Regions from separate parts of the Homo sapiens genome. Here regions 1, 3, 4, 5, 6 and 7 are each linked to region 2. Evidence: promoter capture Hi-C in human tissues and cell types (Jung and others, 2019). All regions are on one chromosome and are shown on one strand. The core of a region is centred on a gene start or on the middle of the fragment in contact, and the rest is flanking DNA. Distances in the headings are between cores, read along the strand shown. Region 1 overlaps ZC3H3 (zinc finger CCCH-type containing 3). Region 2 holds the start of EPPK1 (epiplakin 1). Region 3 overlaps EEF1D (eukaryotic translation elongation factor 1 delta). Region 4 holds the start of RHPN1 (rhophilin Rho GTPase binding protein 1). Region 5 overlaps ZC3H3 (zinc finger CCCH-type containing 3). Region 6 has its middle 9.4 kb from the start of MAFA-AS1. Region 7 holds the start of MAFA (MAF bZIP transcription factor A).

Region 1 (3,255 bases), core at 364-2,863, 350 kb after region 2:
GCTGGGGGCGCTGGTCGGCTGTACCCCGTTAGCCGACACCTGCTGCACGCCAGGACATGTGGATTTCATCCTGGTGACAGGGAGCAAGCAGAGACCCATGCGGTCCCTGGTGGCCACAGTGAGGTGGCCGGATGGTGGTTAGGTCGTGGGCTTATCTGGGAGTGGATGGTAGGGGTGGCTTGGACAGTTGGCGGTATCCCCTGGTCACTTGGGGAGGAGGGGTTGGGGAGGTGTCCAGCTCTGGGAGGCCAGCAGGGTCTGCTGAGCCCTAGGAGGCCAAGGCTTGCAGATGGCGTGGTGGTTGGGGTGAGAGGCTCCCCACTGGGTGCAGGTTCAGCCCTGCTCACCTGGCCTGCTCCCTCTTCAGGCCTCTAGTAGAGTGGGGCATAGGCAGGGGATGGGGGAGGTTGCTTCCTGCTGGTGGGGCCTTGCTCGGCGCCCCCCGGACTCCTGCCAGGAAGAGTGGGTTTGGGAGGCCACCAGCTTCACCGGCTGACCATTTCGGAGTGCACAGCTGAGGGGCTGCTGCGGTCCTGCCTCACTAGAGGGAAGGGCGTAATTGATCTCGTCGTTTTTTTTTTTTTTTTTAATGTTTTTAGAAACAGGGCCCTGCTTCCCTCCCAGGCCAGAGTACAGTGGTGCAGTCACAGCTCATTGCAGCCTCAACCTCCTGGGCTCAAGTGACCCTGCTGAATAGCTGGGACTACAGGTGCATGTCACTGTGCCTGGCTAATTTTTAATTTTTTTGTAGGGACAGGGTCTTGCTTTGTTGCCTAGGCTGGTCTTGAACTTCTGGGCTCAAGTGATCCTCCTGCCTTAGTCTCTTAAAGTGCTGGGATTACAGGTGTGAGCCACTGTGCCCAGCCAAACTCATAGTTAAAGACCAACGTGAGGCTGGGCGTGGTGGCTCATGCCTGTAATCCCAGCACACTGGGAGGCCGAGGCGGGTGGATCACCTGAGGTCAGGAGTTCAAGACCAGCCTTGGCAACATGGCAAAACCCCGTCTCTACTAAAAATACAAAAATTAGCTGGGTGTGGTGGCGAGCGTCTGTAATCCCATCTACTCGGGAGGCTGAGGCAGGAGAATCACTTGAACCCAGGAGGCAGAGGTTAGATCGTGCCATTGTACTCCAGCCTGGGCGACAGAGTGACATTTTGTCTCAAAAAAAAAAAAAAAAAAAGACCAGCGTGGCGGCTGCATGGAGTGAGAGGAGAGGGTCCTGTCTGAGGAAGGGGTGGGGAAGGCGTCCCACTCACTTGCCCACCACTGGCCCAACTGGCAAGCGTGGTTGAGTCACTGTGCCTGGCAGCCTGCCGGCTCCTGGGGATACTGCAGTGAAGGTGAAGAGATGATGAGGCTGGAGCCGCCTTCCAGTGGTGGAGACAGGCAGCCACTGGAGTGCTTGTACATCAGCCAGGAAGGTGCTCCTGGGTGGAAAATGCCTTCTGAGGAACAGGCAGGGGGAGAGCACAGGGCCAGCTGCAGAGAGGTGGTTGGCGAGTGGGAGGGCTTCTCTGAGGAGGTGACCTGAGCAGAGAGGAGCGAATAGGGCTCAGCTCTGAGGCCGAGGTGGAGGTGGGAACGAGCTTACTGTGTTCTGGAGCACAAGGAGGCTGTGGGGCCAGTTCACCATCTGGGAGTGTGGCTTGGAGGGGATGCAGCCAACGGGGCAGAGGGACCAGGTCCTGGGAAAGGGTCTTGTAGGCCACAGGAGGGAACGGGGGGTTGGTTCTGGTTACGTTGGGAAGCCAGGGAGGGACAGGGGAGGACCCTGGGAGGGGCGTGTCCAGGGCCCCGGGGTGTCTGGCAGGCCCGAGTGGGCAGAGTCGGGAGGACCTGTGCGTGAGGCCACTGACGCCAGGCCAAGGAGCGGAGTCCGCAGGCTCTCAAGCAGGCAGGGAGCCCGTGGAGATGTGCGCGGAGGTGAGAGGCCGAGCCTGCGTCCTGGCCTGGTCACTCAGGCGGCTGACCCCAGAGACAGCCACCGTGAGACTCCAAGCTGGCCGCAGGGGAGGTGGGCGTGGCCAGGGCGTCTGCTGAGGAGATGGGAGGCTGGGGCCCAGGAAGCTGTTGAGTGGCTCCCCCAGGTGCCCTCCTGCAAGGCCCACCGTCTCCATGCCTGCCTGCCTGCCTAGGAACTGAGGCCTGCCTGTCCTCTGCCTTGGCCAGTGGGCTTCTGGGCAGGGCCCAGCTTTGTTTCGTTGAACGCTGCAGTGCTCTGGTGAGCCAGTGAGCCCTTCCCAGGCCCTCCTTCAGCCCTCCCGGGTGGCCAAGGCCTCCATCGGCTGGGGTGTTCGTTCCTGGATGCTGGGGTCGTGTGGGCTGTGGATGGGGCAGCCAGGTGGGACTGCTCCTTCATTTGGCTGTTGGGAGTTTTCTTTCCCCATTTTCTGCCCAGCAAAAGCTTAGTTCCAGCTCCACCTCTCCTCTTCAAGGAGACGGCAGTGTCCCAGTGTCCAGCTGGGGACGACTGCCCTGTGGACTTATGCACCAGGGACAGGGGCTTCTGAAAGCTGCCAGGCAGCCCTGCTGCCGCCTCCCTCCCCCGCCGCACTTCAGCCTTGCCGTGCGGCCCAGTGGCCAGCAGAGGGCATGCTTGCCCCTCCTATCGCCTCCGTCCACCCTTTTTTGGTAATCGCGTAATTTCCTTTTTATGTGAAAGAAAGCAGATACCAAGTAATTTGCAGCAATAACCTGCTAATGCTGGGCCAGTATCGAAACTCCCCTGTTCATTTCAAGTGGCAGATAAAACGCTAATACATAATTATCCTTGCAAATTGGATTATTTTAAATAACCAAAAGGCTACGGCCAGGAGAAAGCGATCCCATCTCCCCTGAGTTACTATTGCAGCGTAATTGCCGCGTTCAATCAATTTCCCTGGCATTAGAAATTCCGTCACAATCAACATTAAGCTTTATTCATTGTGATGGCTAAGAGCCGGGCCATTTCTCCTCTTTTTCTTAACTGGCAAAATTAATCAGGGAAAAGATTTTAAACATTTACCCGTGCGAAAGAGGTCAGCCCTGCCACTATATTGCTCAGCAGATAAGGGGGCTAATAAAAAGAAAATTGAATTACTAATGATCACCAAGAACAGAGTATATAAAACCTGGCCATCGCCAGTTCAGGAAAAGGGAGAATCAATTTTCTTGGGACAAGGTGCGTTCATTTTTTATTTTGGCGCATATTATCAGCAATTTAATTTGAGAGGCATAAACAGGAGGAAACAGTTAGGGAATAATGAGCCTGGAG
Region 2 (3,212 bases), core at 159-2,658:
CCAGGTTTTGTGGCCTGGCAGGGGCGCTGCCTGCAATGGCTCACCGCAGGAAGAAGTGGCTCTGGGGTGTGCTCCAGGCCACAGGCCATAGCCAGCACCACCATGCCTCCCAGCAAGACCACACAGACAGTGTCCAGGCATCCGGTGAGCAGGGCTGGGGATGGATGCGGTTGGCCTGGCAGTGCCTTGGGGAAATGCGGGTTCCACCAGAGCTCCTCTGGGGTCAGGGCCCCGCAGTCGGCAGCAGCCATGCTGTGCGGCCAGTGTGGCAGGTGTGGACAGGGTCCAGGCAGCCTGGGTGAGCAGGTGTGAGTGTGGACCTGGTGGGTGGGTGAGAGCAGAGCCAGGGCAGTGGTCCCAAGCACCCTAACCCCTGAAGGCCTAACCTGTCCCTCCTGCACCTGCGTGGGCGCCTGCAATTACCCTCATGGTGTGCATTGGAGGTGGCTGGCTGGCTCTGGATGATTTTCTGGTCAAGAATGACTCAGGCAGAGGTGGGGGCTGGAGCTTGGGAGAAGGGGGCACTTGTGGGGGTGGGGAGCACCTGAGCCCTCAGGACCTCCAGGACTACGGGACAGAGGAGGAGGGGCCTTGGGGACAGAGGAGGAGGGGCTTTGGGCCCTGTACTTCCGTGGCCCTGCCCACCTGGGATATCGGGGCAGCCAAGGGGAGGGCCCTCCAGAAGATCCATGGAAGGTTCCCGTGCCAGGCTGAGGCTGCCCCCAGGCCAGCCCCCGAGGCTGTGAGCCTCCATGCCCAGTGTCTCTGGCATGCCCCAGCCTTGGAAGGTGGGTGCCAGGATGGGCTTCAGAGAGGGGACCAGGTACTCCCAGGGTGACAGGGAACATTCTCTGTGCCCAGGTGGAGGAGCCAGACCGGGGGGTGAGGCCTGGCACTGCTCCAGGCAGGACATCCCAGCTCTTACAACGTCATGGGGGCAGGGGGGCCTGCCAAGGAGAGCCTTGAAGACCCCTGGACCCAGCAGACACACGACGTGAAGCAGCGTCCCCAGGAAGCTGAGCAGACAAGGTGGGGTCGGGGCTGGAGGCAGGGACACCAGCCCGCACCGCATTAGTGGCTTGTGGGGATAGAAACCGCCGCTCTGGCCGGTCCGCGTTTCACTCCAAACTCCTTTCCCAAAAAAAAAAAGCTGTTCTGAAGGGCACAGGACGCCTCCGCGCCCGCCCTGCGTTCCTTCGCGGTGACTCCCTGCTGGGGACGAGGGGAGGGTCCCGGCTGCCCAGCCGCCGCCCCTTGCCCGGGGTGCAAGCGCCAGGCCCGGGCCGCGCGGGGTTTCCGGCACCTGCCCGCCCCGCCCCGCCCCGCGTCGGGGCCCCGACCTGGGCGCCGCCCTAGACGGGGGCGGGGCCTGTGGGGCTTGAAATGCGGGCGGAGCGGGCGCGCGGAGACACTGCGGACCGAGCGGCGAGCGGGCAGGTGCGGCGGGTGCGGCGGGTGCGGCGGGTGCGGCGGGTGCGGGCAGGTGCGGCGGGTGCGGGCAGGTGCGGCGGGTGCGGGTGCGGGCTCGGGGCCGGGCGGGGCGGCGGCCGCCGAAGGAAACCGGATCCCCGCTGGAGCCGCACGCCGAGGCCAGGGTAGGGGCGCGGCGGCCAGCGGGGTCTTGGGCTCTGGCCGGGCAGGTTTCCCGCCCTGGGCAATTTGAGCTCCGAGTCCGAAGTGGCGCCCCTGAGTCCCGGGCGCCGGTGAAGAGGAGGCGCCGGCCCCGAGCCCTCACGGGAGAGGCGGCCAGGGGCGGGGGTCTCGCAGGCCCAGCGGTTTTCCCTGCAGCGAGGACCGCCCGGGGCACGCTCTGCAGGGTGGGGAACGCCCAGGCCAGGAGGCAGCTAGGCCGACAAATTGAGAGGGGTGACTCCTGGCAACATTGCCGGGAGGGAGGCGTCACGGATCCGGGGAAGCTGCCTGCTGTTGGGTGAGCGGTCCCAGGGGTGGCCACTCCGGGTCAGGTAAGCGGTCACACGGTCGCCTGGAGACCCGTGGGAGGCAGAGGCAGGAAGGGCCCTGTTCATCACTTGGGCCCAGGGCTCTGCTTCCCTGCCCTGGGCCCCCGCTGCACTGTGCCAAGCTTGTTATTGGGGCCACTGATCTCTGATCATGGTGCAGGTTGCAGGTGGGTGGGGTCTTCCCACAAGGGCACACAGCCGGGCAGAAGCTAAGGCTGCTGCCTCCTGTGTGGGCCCAGGCAGCTGCCAGGGTCTGTCCTGACCTGACTCAGGCAGGCGGCTGCAGCCTCCCCAACCTTTGTCCCAGGCTGCGGTGGGGGCCTGCCGGGCAGTCTGGTGACAGACAGTGACCTCACCCAAGAGATGCAGACCCACCCTCCTCAGGAACGGCCCTCCACCACTTGGGGCCTGGGGGCCACCTGAAGTGGGGAATCCACAGGAGGGGCCCTTTGTGCCTCAGGCTCCGGGGAAATCTGCTCGGCCTCCTCCCCACCCCATCACCCTAACCCTGACCCCGTGCTCTCCTAGGCAGCAGCCACCTCCTCCAGATGCCCCCACACTCGAAGCTGCACCCCCTGCCCCCCCTCGCTCCGGACCCTCTGTCCAGCTGCCCTCCCAGGCCCCACATGGAGTCAAGACACCCACTCCCGGGCCTTCCTCCTGCCAAGCCTGGGAAGGGGCAGGGCCCAGGGAAGGGGCAGGGCCCAGAGGGGTTCATACCAGGCCCAAGGTCAGGAAGAGATAGGGAGTGGTGCAGCCAGCCACAGGCCGCATCTCACGCATGGTGCGGGGCATGCACTGGCAGGCACACTCACACACGCAGGGCAAGCCTGCCCCCGACTCCCTGCTCCCAAGCGCCCTGTCTCCAGCCTTCCTCCCTGGATCTCCTCTTTGTTTGGGGAACTTGAGCCACTTGCCTGAGCTTACGAGGCCCGCTTAGCACGCGGCCTGTCTGGGCTGGCGGCCTGTGCGCAGGTCAGGGGCCCGCCCAAGGTGCTGTCCCCACCCTCACTGGCCCTGCCCCGCCCTCGCTGGCCCTGCCCCACCCTGGCCCGCACTGCCCCTCCCCCTTGCTGGGAAATCAGGTGCTCCTCTCATTTCCTCACCGCCATCCCTGGCCGGATGTCAGGGGACAGGGCAGGGCCCTGACCCCCTAGAAGCCCCTCGTCTGGCCTGGATGCCATAGTGAGTGGCTGCCTTAGGCTCACAGATCCTGGAGGGTCCTGGAACGAGGCGTGCTGGAGAGGGCCC
Region 3 (3,049 bases), core at 535-3,034, 290 kb after region 2:
GATTCGGGCCACATGCCCGCAAAGAACTCCATGTTCCACTTAGAGGCTGCAGAGTGCAGTGCCAGGGGTGCCTTCCCAAAAGTCCTCCCTGCCTGGGTGGAGCGTAGACAGCTCAGCACCCCACGGGGGGCGTTGGAGCCAGCCTTGGTTTTGTTGGGTAAGGATGTTAGAAGAGGGGCGAAGACCCATAGCCACTGGTGTGAAGGGTCTGCTCTTGACCGAAGGCTGCCTCCCTCTGGGTGCAGACCAGGCAGGTGGTCCCAGTCACGGTGCCCTGGGGCCACTGGGTCTGTCTGCCCTCAGGCTCCACTAGACACACCTGCGGAGGCAGCAGACTAGCAGCGGTGTCTGTGAGGGGCAGCTGCACAGCCCCCTCTTGAGGGTGCTCCTAGGCGTTGGTTAGGCCCAGGCGTTTCTGCTTTTGGGGAGCAGAGCCTGGAGTCGGGCATGGCTGGGGAGGAAGCTATCGCAGGCTGAGCGCGGGCTGGGGTGCTGACCTGCATCCCAAGAGCAGATTTGCCCCTGGCCTTCTGGGCCTGTCCTTTCTGTAACACCACACTGGACACCTGGGAGCAGAGCGTGCCCCCGGCAGGATCCCACATGGCTGCTGGAGCACTGGGGCAGCAGGTGACTGAGGTCGCCCAGAGCTTGAGGGAACACCTCATCCAGGGAGGAGGCTGAGGCTCCCAGGCCACAGTAGCAAGTGGGGAGTGGAGCCTCACAACCTGCCTCCCACCAAGATGGTCCCTCTTAACATTACACAGAAGCAAAACCTTAGAGGGGGCCCTGATGTCCTGGGACTGTGAGAGCCCCATGATTCCCCTTTAGCTTGGATGGACCCAAAGGTATGGACTCCAGCTGGGAGGCGGGGGCAGCTGATAGAGAGCCTAGAGCCGTCTCAGTGCTCCAGGCGCTTGGCCCCTCCTTTCTACACAGTGGTCACCAGCATCCTCCCTGGCGTCTCCTTCATGAGTGGGCACTCCACCCTCTGCCCGGCCACCTGGCCCCCTCCTGGGGAGGACAGTCAGGCCCACAAAGAAGCTCCCTCTTTTTTTTTCTTTTCCCCTGCTCTGTTGTCCAGGCTGGAGTGCAGTGGCGCCATCTCGGTTCACTGCAAGCTCCGCCTCCCGGCTTCACGCCATTCTCCTGCCTCAGCCTCCCTAGGAGCTGGGACTACAGGCGCCTGCCACCACGCCCGGCTAATTTTTATTTTTATTTTTAGTAGAGACAGGGTTTCAACGTGTTAGCCAGGATGGTCTCAGTCTCCAGACCCTGTGATCCGCCCGCCTCGGCCTCCCAAAGTGTTGGGATTACAGGTGTGAGCCACCGTGCCTGGCCGAGGCTCCTTCTTTTGTAAGAACTTTGAGGGTGCTCTGGGTGTGGCAGTGGTGTGGCCAGGACAGCCACAGAGACCGTTCTGTAGAATGGGAACACCAGCCACCATGGTGGGGTGGCCAGGCCTGGCCTGTGGAAAAATGCAGGGAAAGCTAGTTAGCCAGTTAAAGCTTATTTCAGATAAATGACGAAAAATTTTTAGTGTAAGTATGTCTCAGATACTTCATGGGCCATACATTCACTAACAAAATTATATATTGTTCATGTATTGGGAGGCACTTGGCCTCCCAGAGTACTGAGATTACAGGCATGAGCCACTGCGCCCGGCCTGTTTTCTCTTCACAACAAAACGTCCCCACATGGGCTTGACTTCGAAGTCCTCGAATGTCATCTCATGGAAGCCCCACTGGGGAGCATCCTCAGCCCCTGCCCAGGGAGGGCAGCCACGGGGAGGGCGGGCACGGGGAGGGTGGGCACGGGGCTGCGGCCACCCGCTGTGTTGCAACTCTGCCCTCTGCTTGCTTTTTATCGCTGTGTCCGGAAGATGAGGAGCGGGAAGGCCTCCTGCACCCTGGAGACCGTGTGGGAAGACAAGCACAAGTATGAGGAGGCCGAGCGGCGCTTCTACGAACACGAGGCCACACAGGCGGCCGCCTCCGCCCAGCAGCTGCCAGCCGAGGGGCCAGCCATGAATGGGCCCGGCCAGGACGACCCTGAGGACGCTGATGAGGCGGAAGCCCCTGACGGCGGCAGCAGGCGTGATCCCAGGAAGAGCCAGGACAGCAGGAAGCCCCTGCAGAAAAAGAGGAAGCGCTCCCCCAAGAGCGGGCTCGGCCCCGCGGACCTGGCCCTCCTGGGCCTCTCGGCCGAACGCGTGTGGCTGGACAAGTCACTTTTCGACCAGGCAGAGAGCTCCTACCGCCAGAAGCTGGCAGATGTGGCTGCCCAGGCAGCCTGGCCTCCTGCCTTGGCCCCTTGGGGTCTCTGCACCCATGGAAACCAGGTGGCCTGCCACCACGTGACCTGGGGGATCTGGGTCAACAAGTCCTCCTTCGACCAGGCTGAGCGGGCCTTCGTGGAGTGGTCTCAGGCCCTGTTGCTGGCCCCCGACGGCAGCCGCAGGCAGGGGACTCCCAACACAGGCCAGCAGGTGGCCGTCCCCGACCTGGCCCACCAGCCCAGCCCACCGGTCAATGGCCAGCCCCCGCTGGGCAGCCTGCAGGCACTGGTTCGGGAGGTGTGGCTGGAGAAGCCCCGGTATGATGCAGCCGAGAGGGGCTTCTACGAGGCCCTGTTTGACGGCCATCCCCCAGGGAAGGTGCGCCTGCAAGAGCGAGCCGGCCTGGCCGAGGGTGCCCGGCGGGGCCGCAGAGACCGGCGGGGCCGCAACATCTTAGGGAACAAGCGGGCCGGGCTGCGACGGGCCGATGGGGAGGCCCCCTCTGCCTTGCCCTACTGTTACTTCCTGCAGAAGGATGCAGAGGCCCCCTGGCTCAGCAAGCCTGCCTACGACAGCGCCGAGTGCCGCCACCACGCTGCCGAGGCCCTGCGGGTGGCCTGGTGCCTCGAAGCTGCCTCCCTGTCTCACCGACCCGGTCCTCGGTCTGGCCTGTCCGTGTCCAGCCTGAGACCCAAGTAGGAGAAACGTGCTGGGTGGGCACCCAGCCTGGGCTGTGGGCACAGGGACAGCCATCCCAGGCTGGGGCTCCTCCAG
Region 4 (3,168 bases), core at 339-2,838, 510 kb after region 2:
CCTGATGGGGGTGGAACAGGCCTCACTCTAGCCCGGCAGCAGGCATCGGGGAAGACTTTCCAGATGGCAGGACAGCCTGAGTGGTGCGCGTGTGACACAGGGCCTGCCTCCGCCCCACTGCCACCTCCCACGGGCCCCTCCCCAGTACCCTGACTGTGGGGTCATTTCTGGACGCTGTGAGAGACACGGCAGCCTGGAAACAGCTTCTCCCCAACTTTCCAAGGTGGCAGCCCAGGGAGGGCCAGGACAGGGAGCCCAGGCACAGCCCCCAGCCTGAAAAGCGTCACCTCCGGAGCCCTCTGGGACATCTTGTTTGTACAGCCTCCCAAACATTCCACCCAAAACAACATGTGCCGTCCCAGGCCACCTGCAGGCATGGCCGCCCTGACAGAGCAAGTTCATAGGGGGCAGGCACAGGCTGCCTCTTTCCCTCCAGTGCCCAGGAGGTGCTGCAGCCTCTGGCACGCCTCGGGGTGGGCAAGAAGGGCGTCCTTGAGGGCTACGGTCAGCATCACCAGCCCAGTGACCTGAAGCCAAACCCTGGCTGATAGCACCGCCTCCTCCTCTAGGAGACCTAACCCCAAACACCAAAGCCGAGTAGAACCAGCCCAGGGACAACACAGTCTGACGTCCCAGAGGGGAGGAGGGCCGCGCGCTATCAAAGGCTCACCCGGGGCGAGGAGCAGGAGCAGCCCGCGGCTGAAAGCCCGTGGCGGGCGTGGGCGCCCAGGGCCTGGCAGGAGGACTGGGGCAGCCTCGAGCTGGTCCGCAGGGAACAAGCAGGCTCTGGGCTGCAGAGCAAGGCCCACAGACGTCCCCTCCTTCCCAGGCACAGACTCAGCAGGTCTCCACAGCCCTGCCCACCCCTCCCACTTGCCCAGTCAGCACCCCGGGTTAGGGACTTCAGAAGGGAAGGAGGTTTGGGAAGTGAGAAGAGGCCAGCCGGGAAGACCTCTCTCGGTTTCCCATACCCAGGAGGCTTCGCTGCCCGCTGCTACCAGTGCACCCAATGGGCATGCAGTTCCTGAGCGGATGCAGAGGGAGGACCGAACTAGGGAAGGAGGCTGTACAGGTGCCGGAAAGGAACACGATGGCGGGTGTGGGGAGGGCGCTCACAGAGCCCAGCCCCACATCCGCCCAGAAGGGGGACACGAGGAGGGCGTCCCCCCAACCCGCTTCAGCGGTGAGGATGATCCAGACTTTGGCTGTCCGCATTTCCCGGCTCACATGAGTGGCCTGGAAGCACCTCCACCGAGCTCAGAGGAGGAGGGACGCAGGCTCTGGCCTCAGTTTCCCTGCCTGCGTCCGGGCCGAATGAGACGTAGGAGGGGGGCGCCCGGAACGCGCCTCGAGGGGGGGCAGGAAAAGGCCGGGATTCCGGGCCCCTCCTCCCGCCGCCGCGCCAGTTCTGCGCACCTGCAGCCGCGGGCTCTCCTCGCCGGCGCCCGCGCCGTCCGGCCTCTCCTCCAGGATCATCGCCGCACCCGCTGCGCTGGGGGTCCCTCGGGGTCAGCCAGCCCGCCGCTCGCGCAGCGCTCCGCAGCCGGGCTAGGGCCGCCCGCACCACCTGGGCCGCGGGCTCCTGAGTGCCCGCGCCGGTCCCCGACTGTCCCTCCTGAGTGGGGGCGGCCCGCGGCGCGGCTGGGCGGGGCACGGGTCTGGCGTGCGAAGCTGGCCATTGCCCAATAGGCGGCAATGCCGCTTCGACGGACAGCTATATCAGCCAACCAGAGTTCCAGGAAGGCGGGCTCTGGACGGCCAGCTCCGCCCGCCCGCGGGACGGTAACCCCTGGCAACCGCGGCCGGAACGCCCGCGGCTGGCTGGCAGGTTGTACTGCGCATGCGCCGCGGCGGCCGCTGAGCGTGCGGGAGAAGTTCGGGAAACGGAGAAAAAAACTATACGGAACGTCCCAAGCTGAGAGTCAGGGCGGACCTGGACTCGGCGCGCCTAGCTCCTCGGCTCCCTTTGCGGGGACTCCAGGAGTCTGCCCGCTCGCGCCGTTTCGTCCTGTCACCCCGGCAACGGGACCCTCTAAGAGGCTTGTTCCAAAAATGTTCACAATGGGGTTTTTAAAAACGGTTTTGTTAGGGACAAGTGCTTGTGTGAGTCCTCCGACAATGCCTGCTTTCTTCTCTCTGCCCGCGGAGCGGAGGCTCCAGGCCTGGCCCCAGTCCGAGGCGCCTCTGTCGGTGTCGTCCTGCTTCCAAAACCGGCCTCCAGAACCCGCCTCCTTCCAGAACCTCCGTCCAGAACCCGCCTCCCTCCAGAACCTCCGTACAGAACCCACATCCTTCTAGCACCTGCCTCTGGAACCCACGTGCTTTCAGAACTACCTGTTTGTAGAACTTGTTTCCAGAACGAACCTGCTTTCCGAATCTCTTTACTTCCAGAGCTTGTTTCCTGGACTGACCTATTTTCAGAACCTACTTTCAAAACCAGCTTGCCTCCAGGACCACCTGCTTGGAGAACTGGCCTGCAGCCCCAGGACTGGACGACCTGAGACTGCACAGCTCCCTGCGGGGCTCACCCGGCTGTGTGTGTCCTTCCGGGCCTTCCATACTTCCCTAGGTGTCTGGTGACTCCGGAGCCCGCTCGGATTTCGTGTGGGTCTCGCCTCAGCTCAGAACACACCCTTTGAAGAGCAGGAAGGCCAGGGCACAGGCGGTAACCACGGCTCCTGGTCATCAAGTTCCTCTGAAGCCCAGGTCTTGTCCACGTTCACTGCCCCACCACAGGCCCAGCGGAGCCTTGGAGCTGAGCCCTGGGATCATTCTGGTGCCTGTGCTCCCGGCTCCGCAACAAGCACACAGGAGCCTGTCATCCCCAGATCTAAATCCTGAAGGCTAAGCTCCGTGGTCTGCCGCAGCCATCTGCAGCAGGCCCCTCCCAGCAACAGCCTTCTCATAAGGCCCCTGCCAGCCACGCGAAACCTCCTGGCTAGGGCCTGTCTTCCACTCCTGGCCTTTTGAGACAGGGCCTCACTCTGTTCCCCAGGCCGGAGTGCAGTGGTACGATCACAGCTCACTGCAGCCTCCACCTCCTGGGCTCATGTGATCCTCCCACCTCAGCCTCCTGAATAGCTGGGACTACAGGCTTGCACCACCACACCCGGCTAATTTTTGTATATTTTGTAGAGACAGGGTTTCGCCACATTGCCCAGGCCCAGG
Region 5 (3,414 bases), core at 300-2,799, 370 kb after region 2:
CAGACAGTTCTTTGCACAGAGTAGTAATTCTAGTTTCATCTTCTTATTCATTAACCAATTGTGAAATTAGCAACTTATTTTCTTCCTAGTTATTTCCCTTTGAAGTTCCATAAAAATCTGAACTCTCCCTCACTCCTGCTCCACATAAAACAGAGCAAGGCTGCGACCCCCATCTGATCAGACCAGCCATCTGTGTTGGAATTGTCCGAGGAGAGTGAGCCGGGTGGGCAGGGCCAGGCTCTGCAGGACTCCTGGACCCCTGATGGCCGGGCCCAGCCTCAGCGGCCGCCCTCCTGATGATGCGTCATTGGGCATGTGGTGCTTGGTACACAGCAGGGCTCTCGAGGTGCCTGAGGGCTGTCCCACCTGGTCCCCGGCCTGAGGGCATGGTGCCGTGTGCAAGAGCTCAAACCCTGCTGATGGATGGGCTCATATCTCATTCACATATGATGCCAGCAGTTTCTTTGTAGTTTGTCTTCCATTGCGGTAGTAAAGTTTTTAATTAGGAAAGCTAATGAGATCGATTAGTCATTAGAAGTGACCTCTTGATGGCGGGCAGAGAGGGCTGCGTGTGTGGGGCTGATAACGCGGGCCGGGGCATCGCCGGCAATAAAGGCGCAAGGGGTTTGATGTGCGCGGAGTGTGCCACGGGAATGCATCACGTGGAGAAAAAAAATTACAGCCCTGGGAGTCTGTAATGAGGGGAATTAAACCAACATCCTATCTAAATAACACGATTATCTACACAAACCCCAGCCAGCCAGGAGGGATGGGCGCCTGGGCCTGTGTCCTCAGGGAGGAGGGCAGAGGCCTGTTTCTGCCTGGGTCCTTCTTGGCTACAGAGCAGCGTCCTGCAGCCTCCCAAGCCTTGCCACCTGCCCACGCCATCGCTGCACACCCTGGGGAACAGGGCCAGGGAGGGACCCTTCCTTCCTGCAGCCTGACTTTCTGGGTCCGTGTGCCATGCATGGTCTTAGGAGCCCTTGCTCCTGCCAGTCGCTGGGTGCCCAGCTCAGAATTCATCTGCTACTACCCATCTGTCCGGCTGTGCCCTGCTCATCCTGGGTTGTCATGAGCTTGTCCGAGCTGCCCATCTGGGAATGACAGGGACTGCCCATGGTCTGCAGGGCCAGGCCGTGGGGGACACGACCCTGCTGTGGGGGTGGGTTGCAGGCTGGAGCCCAGCTTGGGCCCACACTAGCTGCCACCTTGTCACTGTGAGCCCCTTGAAGTGCCCCCAGTCTGGTAGGGACTGTAGGAGAGGGGTCTATCTAGGTGACGTGCAGAATATACCTGCCCAGCCTGAGTGGGCTGTGACAAGAGGCTGGCGCTGCGTTATTACCGTGTGGTTTTCAGGAGTGACACTTGGGCACTAAGAAGTAACACGCAGTAAGGCAAAGAAGCCTGACCTGACCACTGCCAGCACTGCGCAGGAGTGTGATCATGGTGCCGCCGCCCGCCAGGCCCTGCCTGCCCCAAGCTGCCCCTCCTGGGCAGAAGTGTTCTAGAATGCAGAGTCCAGTCCTGTGTGCAGTCGGGGCTGGGAATTCCTAGAGGACTTGGCATGTGCTGGACCTGGGAGGGAGGGCGAGCTCTGGTTCCCAAGGTTAGAAGTGATTTTAGCCGAAGGGAGGCTGTGCATTTGGCGACGGGAATGGAGCTGGGCCAGGTCTGGGGGCTCCTGTACTTAGAATTTGGGGAAAGAGGTTGATGGGGAGGGGAACATGAACCCCCGGGGCCCGAGGGTGGCCCAGTGTCCCGAGTGTGGCCCAGTGTCCCTCCTGCCTTGCTTGGCCCCACCTGGCCTCTGAGCAGGACTGTACCCTAGCTTTGTCATGCTGTGGCTCCAAGGGGCCAGCATCGCCCCAGGCTCTGCGTCCCAGAGCAGCAGGCATTGGGCGGCCTGGGAGGCTTGTGGGAAGCCATGGTGGGAAGCAGGCTGCAGGCTGGCAAGTGGGCCATTTGGGCACTCTGGGGTTGGGGGTGGGCTGGTGGCAGCCCTGAGGCCCGGCCCCATGGCTGGCAGTGCTCCAGTGGGTGCCCTGACTGCCCAGGTGCCAAGGCTGGCCCCCAGCTTGGCCCAGGTGGGGCAGGAGCAGCCGGGCAGCCCATGCTCTCCTCAGGCAGAAGCAAGGAGCCTGCAGCAGGGCTGGAAGGTGGTGAGGTCACCTCGGGGTTATTGATAACTTAAGGACTTCTTACGTTCTCCAGCGCTTAGTTGAAACAAGCTATTATTGATTTTTTTGCTGGTTTCTCCTTGTTTGTAAGACCTTGAAAATACAATCGGCAGACTCTCTGATGTGGACTCTGGGGGACTCTGGGGAAGGCTTTGATGTCATGTTGGGGCCAAGTGTTCCTGACTTGCTCCTGTGCAGGCTGACAGGTGCCTGAGTAGAGGCTGCAGCTTGGATGGTGCTGGGGGAACGCCTGAGGGAGGGGCTCTTTGCTGACATCTGGACAGGGCAGTGTGGGCAGGAGAGTGAGCGAGTCTGTGGAGAGATGGGCTAGAAGCTCGGCCTCAAGGAGGGGCCCTGGCTGCTCAAGGTCCGTTGCGTTTAGGGCTCTGGAAAAGAATTTGGGAAATGGTAACAGTTACTGGTCCTGTCCAAGGAGCAGGGTGCCTCGAGGGCTGTTTGGCTGTGGGGGCCAAGAGGGTGTGTCCTGGGCAGTCAGGGGTCCCGGGCACAGGGGAAGCTGGGCACTGACTGGAAGGAAGTGAGGTCCCCTGGGCTGGGCTGGGTGGGGTCCTCCTGTGGGCGACCCTGAAGGGGGTGGAGGGGGGCGGGGGCCTCTTGCAGCAGCCCCTGAGCCTTGGGCTGCCAGGGAAGCTGTTGGGAAGGCGGGCCTGTGCCCACTGCTGAGTTAGCTTTAATGATCTGGGCAGTCAGAGCTGTACATGATGCAAGCTGGGCAATTAGACGCAACCCTCGAAGCTGTGGGTAAATTGCCAGCTATCAAGTGGAAGGGAACTCGGGCAAAAGATTCCTGTTAATTGCATGAAACATTCAGCAAGAAAAAAGCCGTCGTGTCTATCACCCTGCAAAATGTTATGAAAACAGTGACTAAGTACATAAGTCTGTCTGGGCACAGCGGTGAGGAGGTGCCGCTTGAGGAGGTGAGTGCTCCAGCGCCCCTCCCCTGTGCAGGGCACAGGCCAGGAGCCTCCCAGCCCCGCCCCTCTGGCCTGGGTGGAGGTGGCCCATCTGCCTTCCTCACTGCTCTGCTGGAAGTCAGTCAGCCACCTCGAGTCCCCCTGTTGCGGATACTGTCTAGGGGACTCCAAGGCATCCCCGGCTGCCAGACCCCTGGCTTCTCCTGGTTTTCCTGTGGTGTGGGCATTCCCTTGTTTCTCCAGATGGCTGGAGGGTGTGCGGGGCTGGTGCCCGCCTCTCAGAGGCTGCACTGGCTAGCTCC
Region 6 (3,100 bases), core at 525-3,024, 480 kb after region 2:
CCCTCCCTGCTCCAGATGCCCCCCCGGTGGGGTCCAATATGGTGTCTCCTCAGGAGCCTGGGACCCCCAGAGTCTCCTTTCCTCAGCCCACGAAACCGTCTTTCATGGGGCCATCTGGTGACTGCCTCCCCCATCAGACTGGCAGCCCGAGCCGGCCGTTAGCAGGTGCTCAGTGGGGTGTGGCCCGGGGTCCCCAGGGGCCTCTCTTCTAGGGCTTGTACCCTCCCCCTGCCTGGGCCCAACCCTCAGCCTGTGTCAGTGCCCCCCTGGCTGTGGGGGTGAGTGTGGGCCCTTGAGCCCAGCAACGGGGTGATGCAGGGGTGAACCCCACTGCCCACCCCTTTCCTGCTCCAGAAGCCTCTCCGGGAGATCCCAGCCCCCAGCAGACTGCAGGCCCAAGGTCAGCGGTCTGCGTATTGACAGCGGCCGACTGCCCCGGCTGGCAGGGGAGGGTGAAGGCTGCACGCGGCTCGACGCGGCCCATCTTGTGAGACAATAAATTTGGCCATTGACCCAGCAAGCAGACGTCGATAAATGAATGGTTAATATAAACATTGTCCTTCCCAAATTAATCCGGGCCTCAGGGGTGGGGGCACAGGGCAAGTGGGAAGTTGAAGTACAGAGGAAACAGGGCAAGGACAGTGATGTGTGGGTGGCCAGCCTGTCCCAGCCTCCCGGGACACACCCCTGCCAAGGCGAGGTCTTTCTCTCCTCTGGGGGCTCCTGGGCAGGTGTTTGCCCAGTGCCAGGAGGGCAGCCAGGTTTAGCAAACAAAAATCCAGGGTGCGGAGTTACATTTAGATTTCTGATTAAAAAAACAACAAAACCATTTTAGTCTAAGTATATCCCATGCACTGTTTGGGATATACTTATACTTAAAAAAAAATTCATTGCTTGTCTAAAATTCACAAGTACCTGGGTGTACTGAATTTTATCTGGACACCCTGTGTGAAAGGCAGGAGGGGAGTCTGGTGGCCCCAGAGCTTGGCTGGGTCCATACTGCCTCAGCCCTGCCCAGCTCCAGTGCCCCTGACACCCCCAACCCTCACGGAGCCACAGCCAGCAGGATCACAGGGGGGCAGCCTGGAGCCAGGGCTCAATAGAGGTGGTGACATCAGACTGATGTCATCATTGTGTCCTGCGCTGTGTCCTGGCACGCCTCCAGTGACGCTCACCTCTGTGGCCTCTGCTTCCCCACCGAGGGAGGAGGTGGGTTCGGGAGGGGAGTGTGCAATTGAGGACTGCCTCCCGGAGGAGTAGTGGGCATTGGCTATGGCCCAGGGGTACGCCCTTGCCCCTCTGCGGTGGGGCTTGCATATCTCTGGGGTGCAGGCCAGGGCCCGCACCTCCCATCAAGAACCCTATAAATAAATAAGCTGGTCATATAAATAAACCACAGCCTGCCAGGCAGTCCTGACCCCAGGGCAGCTGCAGTGCCGGGCCAGGCTATCTCTTGCACCCAAGGCCTGCCCACACCCTCTGGGAAGAGTGAAGAAACTGCCAGACCCTCCCCACAGGCCCAGAGGAGGCTCCTAGAAGCCCTGGGCTCCCAGTACCCACAGCTGGGCCTGGGTGCTGAACCAAGGGGAACCCCGGGGAGCTGCTGGCTCCCTCCCCCACACCTGGCACCCAGTCCCACAAGGCCGGTGGCTGGACCCTGTCTGGGCTGCCTGGAGCCTAGCTGGCCTCCCACGAACCCTCCCGCCCAGGTGATAGGCAGCTGAGGCCCAAAGCCCCAGCTGAATGAGCTTGGTTGGGGTGGGAGAGCTAACAAATCAGCTCCAGGCTCCCCCAGCCCAAGCAGGAGTCCCCGGGTTCTGGTGCCCCCAGGGTTGGACTGTGATGGTGCTGGGACTGCCTTGCGCTGCCCTATTGGCCAGGGAGCCGCCTCCTCCCACACTTCCTCCCTGCTGTCCTTCTCGGAAGACGCCTGCCCCCACCCCGGAGTCTGGGTTGGGGGAGGCCACCCTCAGAGGCCTCCAGCCCAGACCAAGGAGGAAGAGGAAGACCCCAGGGTCCAAGATGGATGGGCCCCTGGGGCCTTGGCCCCGCCCCAGCCAGGCAGATGGGGAAGCAACTGTCAGCACCTAATGGGCCCTGTGACGAATAGGGCGGGGGTGCTGGCGGAGCTTCCGAATATCCCTGCAGAGTCCCCAAGGGCAGGGCAGTTCCGGCCCAGCATGGAACGATCAACACCGGGGTCTGGGGACCCGCAGGGCTCTGTCCCCTGCCCCTGAGTTCTTGGGTGGGTTCTGGGGGTCCTGGCAGGGAAGAGGCGGCAGTGGGAGATATCTGAGGTGGTCCCGGGCTGCCCCACGCCCCTCCCAGGCTCACCGAGGGGATGCTGAGCTCAGCGCTGGCTGGCTGAGGGCTTTAGGGACCATTAAAAATGCTCTCTGCCGGCCGCTGTGAGCTGTCCATTTGCTGCTGGCCTGTAGTTACTGCGGCCCCACCCCCACACATCCGCCCTCAAACCCTCACCCTCAGGGCCTCTCTGGCTTCCGCCACCCTTCCTGGGTGAGGGGCCCCTCCACCTGCCCAGCCAGAAGGATGCCCGCCCCTCGCCAGAGCCCCTTGGGGAGACCCCATGCTGAGCGAAGGTGGTGGGCACAGGACACATGCTGTGACCCCAGTGACCTAAGGCTCTGAGGCTCCGATTCACAGGGTGGGGACGGGGGCTGGGGAGGCGAGTGTTTCACGGGAACAGAGTCAGTTTGGGAAGATGGAAGATTCTGGAGGCACGAGGATGTGGGCGCGCTTCACACCACTCAGGTGCACCCTCAGAGATGGCTGAAATCGTAACACATTTTACCGTAATCACAATTTTAAGTAATCAAGCCGTCCTGTGGGGTCCTCTATGGAGGCCCAGCTCTGAGTGGGACACTGGGCTTGGGAGGTGACCGTTTCAGGACAGCCTGTCCTGGGGCTCACGAGGCCAGCCTAACCCTCCTGCCAGGGTCGGGGTGACTGAGGGAACCAGGGGACATATGGGTAGGTGGGCCCCTTCCATCACTGCCCCCTAGGAGGAACAGTGACAGTCCAGGAGGGGACAGTGGGAGGGTAGAGCACCCAAGGTTTGAGCAGAAGGGCATGGGCGGGG
Region 7 (3,475 bases), core at 662-3,161, 450 kb after region 2:
CTCCTTGGCCTGGCAGGAGCCACAGTGCGATGGGCGGGAGGGGGGGACAGTGGGGACACAGCCCGGTGCAAACACTCTCTCTTTCCTCCTCAACCCCCTTTCCAGTGTGCCCCAGGGCCTCCAGGGTGTGGTACCCAGAAATGCTGCTAGACCCTTGGAGGGGCCGTGGGAGGGCCCTGTAGCCCCAAGGCCTCTCCTGGGGCTGCAGGTGCAGACAACCTGGACTACCACCAGCTCCACTGCGCGGCGGCATCCTCCCTTCCCGGGCCTCCCTCTCAACACGGGGTGCCATAAAGGAAACCCCACACCCCTGGCTGGCTGACCACTCGTGTGGTCTCAAGTCCAGGTACCCAGTGTGGGGACTTGGCTCTGCTGCATGCCCACTTCATTTCTTCATCTGTAGAAGGGTGGGGAGCTCAGAGCCCCCTCTGGGACAGGATCGGGGGAGAGGGGTCCCTGCAGGTGGGTCCTCATGCTGTCCTTGGCCCTCCCTTGCGGGGAGGAAGGCCTGGTCTTCCCAAATCAGCAGTCCCAGCTCTGCCCAGAGGAGTGGGAGGGCCCAGGGAAGGGCCAGGGACACCCCGAGACACCTTAGGAAGCAGATGTTCAGTCCTCACTTCATGACAGTCTTCTTGTTACAAAACAATAGATCTTTGTAGAGGGAAGGAGGTGAGAGCCTGGTACTAAATCTGCGGCGCCGTGACCAGGCCTCCCTGTGGCCTCTGCGCAACTCCTTCCAGGCTTTTTTTCTCTACACAGGTGGTTACATTTTAGACTTTTTTTTTTTTTTTTTAAATTGCTGAAGTCATAGAACAGCAATGGAGAGAATTTCGAGAAGAAACAATAGGCCCACTTCGGGTCACCGGCCTTGTAACTCCTGGCGCAACCCTCCCATCACCCGGCTCGCTGGTGTCGGGGACCTGGGGTCACAGGCCCACCGCCCATCGTCACCTCCTTTGCCCCGTGAACCGGAGCCGTCTCCTCCCAGCAGGTGCACGGCCGCCAGGTGGAAATCCCCGCCTTCCCGTCTCAGTTACCCCCCGTCCCACTCCAGGCCCAGCAAGGCGCCTCCAGCCCTGCGGGGGGCGAAAGTGGGCAGTGGTGGCCGCTTGGGCGGGGATTCCTAACGCCCTGAGGGGCTGCCAGCCCGTGGGCCCCGCCCCCGCCGCTCGCACCCACCCGCGTTGTCCCGCGACCCCCACAGTCCTGCGCTCTCCGCGGCCCCCCACAAGCCGGCCCTCCGTCCCCGGCCCCTCGCGCCGCCCCGCACGCGTGTGTCCCCCTCCGCCCGCCCCGTGCTTCCCGGTGCCCGGAGGTGCCGGCAACTTTGTTGACCAAATTCCTGAACGCGTCTGAGCCGCGGGCTAAAAATAACCGGCTCAGCGCGCCGCGCTCTGCCGGGCCGCGCGGTGTCACCCGTGTCCAGAGGCCCGGAGGTCCCGCTGCCGCCGCCGCCGCCGCTAGCGGAGCTGCCCCCGGCCCCCAGGCCCGGCCGCAAACCCAGGGGGCCGAGGGGGCGTCCCGCCGCGTGGCCCGAGGCGGACGAGGCCCCGAGGGGGTCCCCGGGCGCGGTCCCCGTCTGCTTCCCCGGACTCTCCGGCCGCCGGGTGTGGGAGCTGAGGCCCCTGGAGACGGCAGTTGTCCCCTGAGGCGGCGCGCCCTCTGCCCGTGCAGTGCCCCGTGATGGCCACCAGAGGGCCCTGCCCTCTCCTCTAGCCGGCGGCCCGTCCCTACCTCTTCCCACAGCTGTTTCCCGCAGGAGATTGACAGCTGGGCTCTGAGTTGCCATGGGGATAAGCAAATGAGGGCGGCGGGGCTGGGGCTCCGATTGGCCCGGGGGCGCGCGCCCCTCCCGGGGAGGCGGGCCCAGGCACCCGGCTCTATAAAGGGGCGCGCGCGGCTTCGCGTTTAGCCGTGGGAGGCGGGGCCGGCCGGCGGCGCGGGTGGGGCGCGGGAGCGGTCCCGGAGCAGCCCGAGGCGGCGGCCGCGGGGAGGAGGCGGCGACGCGGGCCCGGGGTCGCCCGAGACACCTGGCCAGCGGTGCCCCTAGCGCGCCGCCCCGGAGTTGACCACGTGAAACTTTTCCCTGCGCCCCTCGGCGCCGCCGCCCCGCGCCGGCGCCCCCCCGCCCCCGCCGGGACCGCCGCCCGCGGGGAGCAGGGGGGGGAGAGGCCTGCAGCTCCCCCCCCACTCCCACGCCGCCCGTCGGGGCGCGGCCGGGCGCGGGCCCCGGGCGATGGCCGCGGAGCTGGCGATGGGCGCCGAGCTGCCCAGCAGCCCGCTGGCCATCGAGTACGTCAACGACTTCGACCTGATGAAGTTCGAGGTGAAGAAGGAGCCTCCCGAGGCCGAGCGCTTCTGCCACCGCCTGCCGCCAGGCTCGCTGTCCTCGACGCCGCTCAGCACGCCCTGCTCCTCCGTGCCCTCCTCGCCCAGCTTCTGCGCGCCCAGCCCGGGCACCGGCGGCGGCGGCGGCGCGGGGGGCGGCGGCGGCTCGTCTCAGGCCGGGGGCGCCCCCGGGCCGCCGAGCGGGGGCCCCGGCGCCGTCGGGGGCACCTCGGGGAAGCCGGCGCTGGAGGATCTGTACTGGATGAGCGGCTACCAGCATCACCTCAACCCCGAGGCGCTCAACCTGACGCCCGAGGACGCGGTGGAGGCGCTCATCGGCAGCGGCCACCACGGCGCGCACCACGGCGCGCACCACCCGGCGGCCGCCGCAGCCTACGAGGCTTTCCGCGGCCCGGGCTTCGCGGGCGGCGGCGGAGCGGACGACATGGGCGCCGGCCACCACCACGGCGCGCACCACGCCGCCCACCATCACCACGCCGCCCACCACCACCACCACCACCACCACCACCATGGCGGCGCGGGACACGGCGGTGGCGCGGGCCACCACGTGCGCCTGGAGGAGCGCTTCTCCGACGACCAGCTGGTGTCCATGTCGGTGCGCGAGCTGAACCGGCAGCTCCGCGGCTTCAGCAAGGAGGAGGTCATCCGGCTCAAGCAGAAGCGGCGCACGCTCAAGAACCGCGGCTACGCGCAGTCCTGCCGCTTCAAGCGGGTGCAGCAGCGGCACATTCTGGAGAGCGAGAAGTGCCAACTCCAGAGCCAGGTGGAGCAGCTGAAGCTGGAGGTGGGGCGCCTGGCCAAAGAGCGGGACCTGTACAAGGAGAAATACGAGAAGCTGGCGGGCCGGGGCGGCCCCGGGAGCGCGGGCGGGGCCGGTTTCCCGCGGGAGCCTTCGCCGCCGCAGGCCGGTCCCGGCGGGGCCAAGGGCACGGCCGACTTCTTCCTGTAGGCGCCGGACCCCGAGCCCGCGCCGCCGTCGCCGGGGACAAGTTCGCGCAGGCCTCTCGGGGCCTCGGCTCGGACTCCGCGGTACAGGACGTGGACACCAGGCCCGGCCCGGCCGTGCTGGCCCCGGTGCCAAGTCTGCGGGCGCGGGGCTGGAGGCCCCTTCGCTCCCGGTCCCCGT

What was found. The method cuts DNA at HindIII sites, captures the fragments that hold promoters and counts their contacts. A contact is called where the count stands out against the background at its distance.
Region 1: a contact is called between a fragment that was not itself captured here and the fragment with the promoter of EPPK1 in region 2, in 2 of the 25 tissues and cell types used here (lymphoblastoid cells and spleen).
Region 3: a contact is called between a fragment that was not itself captured here and the fragment with the promoter of EPPK1 in region 2, in 2 of the 25 tissues and cell types used here (adrenal gland and lymphoblastoid cells).
Region 4: a contact is called between the fragment with the promoter of RHPN1 here and the fragment with the promoter of EPPK1 in region 2, in 2 of the 25 tissues and cell types used here (mesendoderm cells and spleen).
Region 5: a contact is called between a fragment that was not itself captured here and the fragment with the promoter of EPPK1 in region 2, in 7 of the 25 tissues and cell types used here (H1 embryonic stem cells, heart left ventricle, lymphoblastoid cells and 4 more).
Region 6: a contact is called between a fragment that was not itself captured here and the fragment with the promoter of EPPK1 in region 2, in 2 of the 25 tissues and cell types used here (lymphoblastoid cells and spleen).
Region 7: the fragment with the promoter of MAFA here is called in contact with the fragment with the promoter of EPPK1 in region 2 in 2 of the 25 tissues and cell types used here (dorsolateral prefrontal cortex and lymphoblastoid cells).

Annotation. Positions count from the first base shown.
Region 1 is chr8:143,531,613-143,534,867 of GRCh38, reverse strand. The region is part of intron 3 of ZC3H3 (zinc finger CCCH-type containing 3); the gene reads left to right. Among named protein-coding and RNA genes, the nearest start is that of ZC3H3, 8.2 kb to the left of the region's middle. The HindIII fragment of the contact is 6,167 bases long and covers 1-3,255 here.
Region 2 is chr8:143,876,663-143,879,874 of GRCh38, reverse strand. It overlaps EPPK1 (epiplakin 1), which reads left to right and starts at 1,408. Exons shown (of 2, transcript NM_031308.4): 1 at 1,408-1,437. RefSeq lists an enhancer at 56-698 and a silencer at 1,265-1,354. The HindIII fragment of the contact is 27,880 bases long and covers 1-3,212 here.
Region 3 is chr8:143,588,912-143,591,960 of GRCh38, reverse strand. It overlaps EEF1D (eukaryotic translation elongation factor 1 delta), which reads left to right. Exons shown (of 10, transcript NM_001130053.5): 3 at 1,880-2,970. The coding sequence starts at 1,880. Among named protein-coding and RNA genes, the nearest start is that of EEF1D, 7.0 kb to the left of the region's middle. RefSeq lists enhancers at 1,873-2,372, 2,373-2,874. The HindIII fragment of the contact is 8,109 bases long and covers 1-3,049 here.
Region 4 is chr8:143,367,296-143,370,463 of GRCh38, reverse strand. It overlaps RHPN1 (rhophilin Rho GTPase binding protein 1), which reads right to left and starts at 1,588. Exons shown (of 15, transcript NM_052924.3): 1 at 1,417-1,588. The coding sequence starts at 1,476. It overlaps RHPN1-AS1 (RHPN1 antisense RNA 1), which reads left to right and starts at 1,829. Exons shown (of 1, transcript NR_026785.1): 1 at 1,829-3,168. RefSeq lists enhancers at 1-426, 427-1,334, 2,075-2,630 and silencers at 1,122-1,171, 1,372-1,831, 1,842-1,911. The HindIII fragment of the contact is 34,419 bases long and covers 1-3,168 here.
Region 5 is chr8:143,508,091-143,511,504 of GRCh38, reverse strand. All of the region lies in intron 3 of ZC3H3 (zinc finger CCCH-type containing 3), which reads left to right. Among named protein-coding and RNA genes, the nearest start is that of SNORD149, 3.6 kb to the right of the region's middle. The HindIII fragment of the contact is 8,123 bases long and covers 1-3,414 here.
Region 6 is chr8:143,397,242-143,400,341 of GRCh38, reverse strand. No RefSeq gene overlaps it. Among named protein-coding and RNA genes, the nearest start is that of MAFA-AS1, 9.4 kb to the left of the region's middle. The HindIII fragment of the contact is 5,490 bases long and covers 1-3,100 here.
Region 7 is chr8:143,429,168-143,432,642 of GRCh38, reverse strand. MAFA (MAF bZIP transcription factor A) reads left to right here and starts at 1,911. Exons shown (of 1, transcript NM_201589.4): 1 at 1,911-3,475. The coding sequence starts at 2,237. The coding sequence ends at 3,298. RefSeq lists a silencer at 1,555-1,994. The HindIII fragment of the contact is 28,870 bases long and covers 1-3,475 here.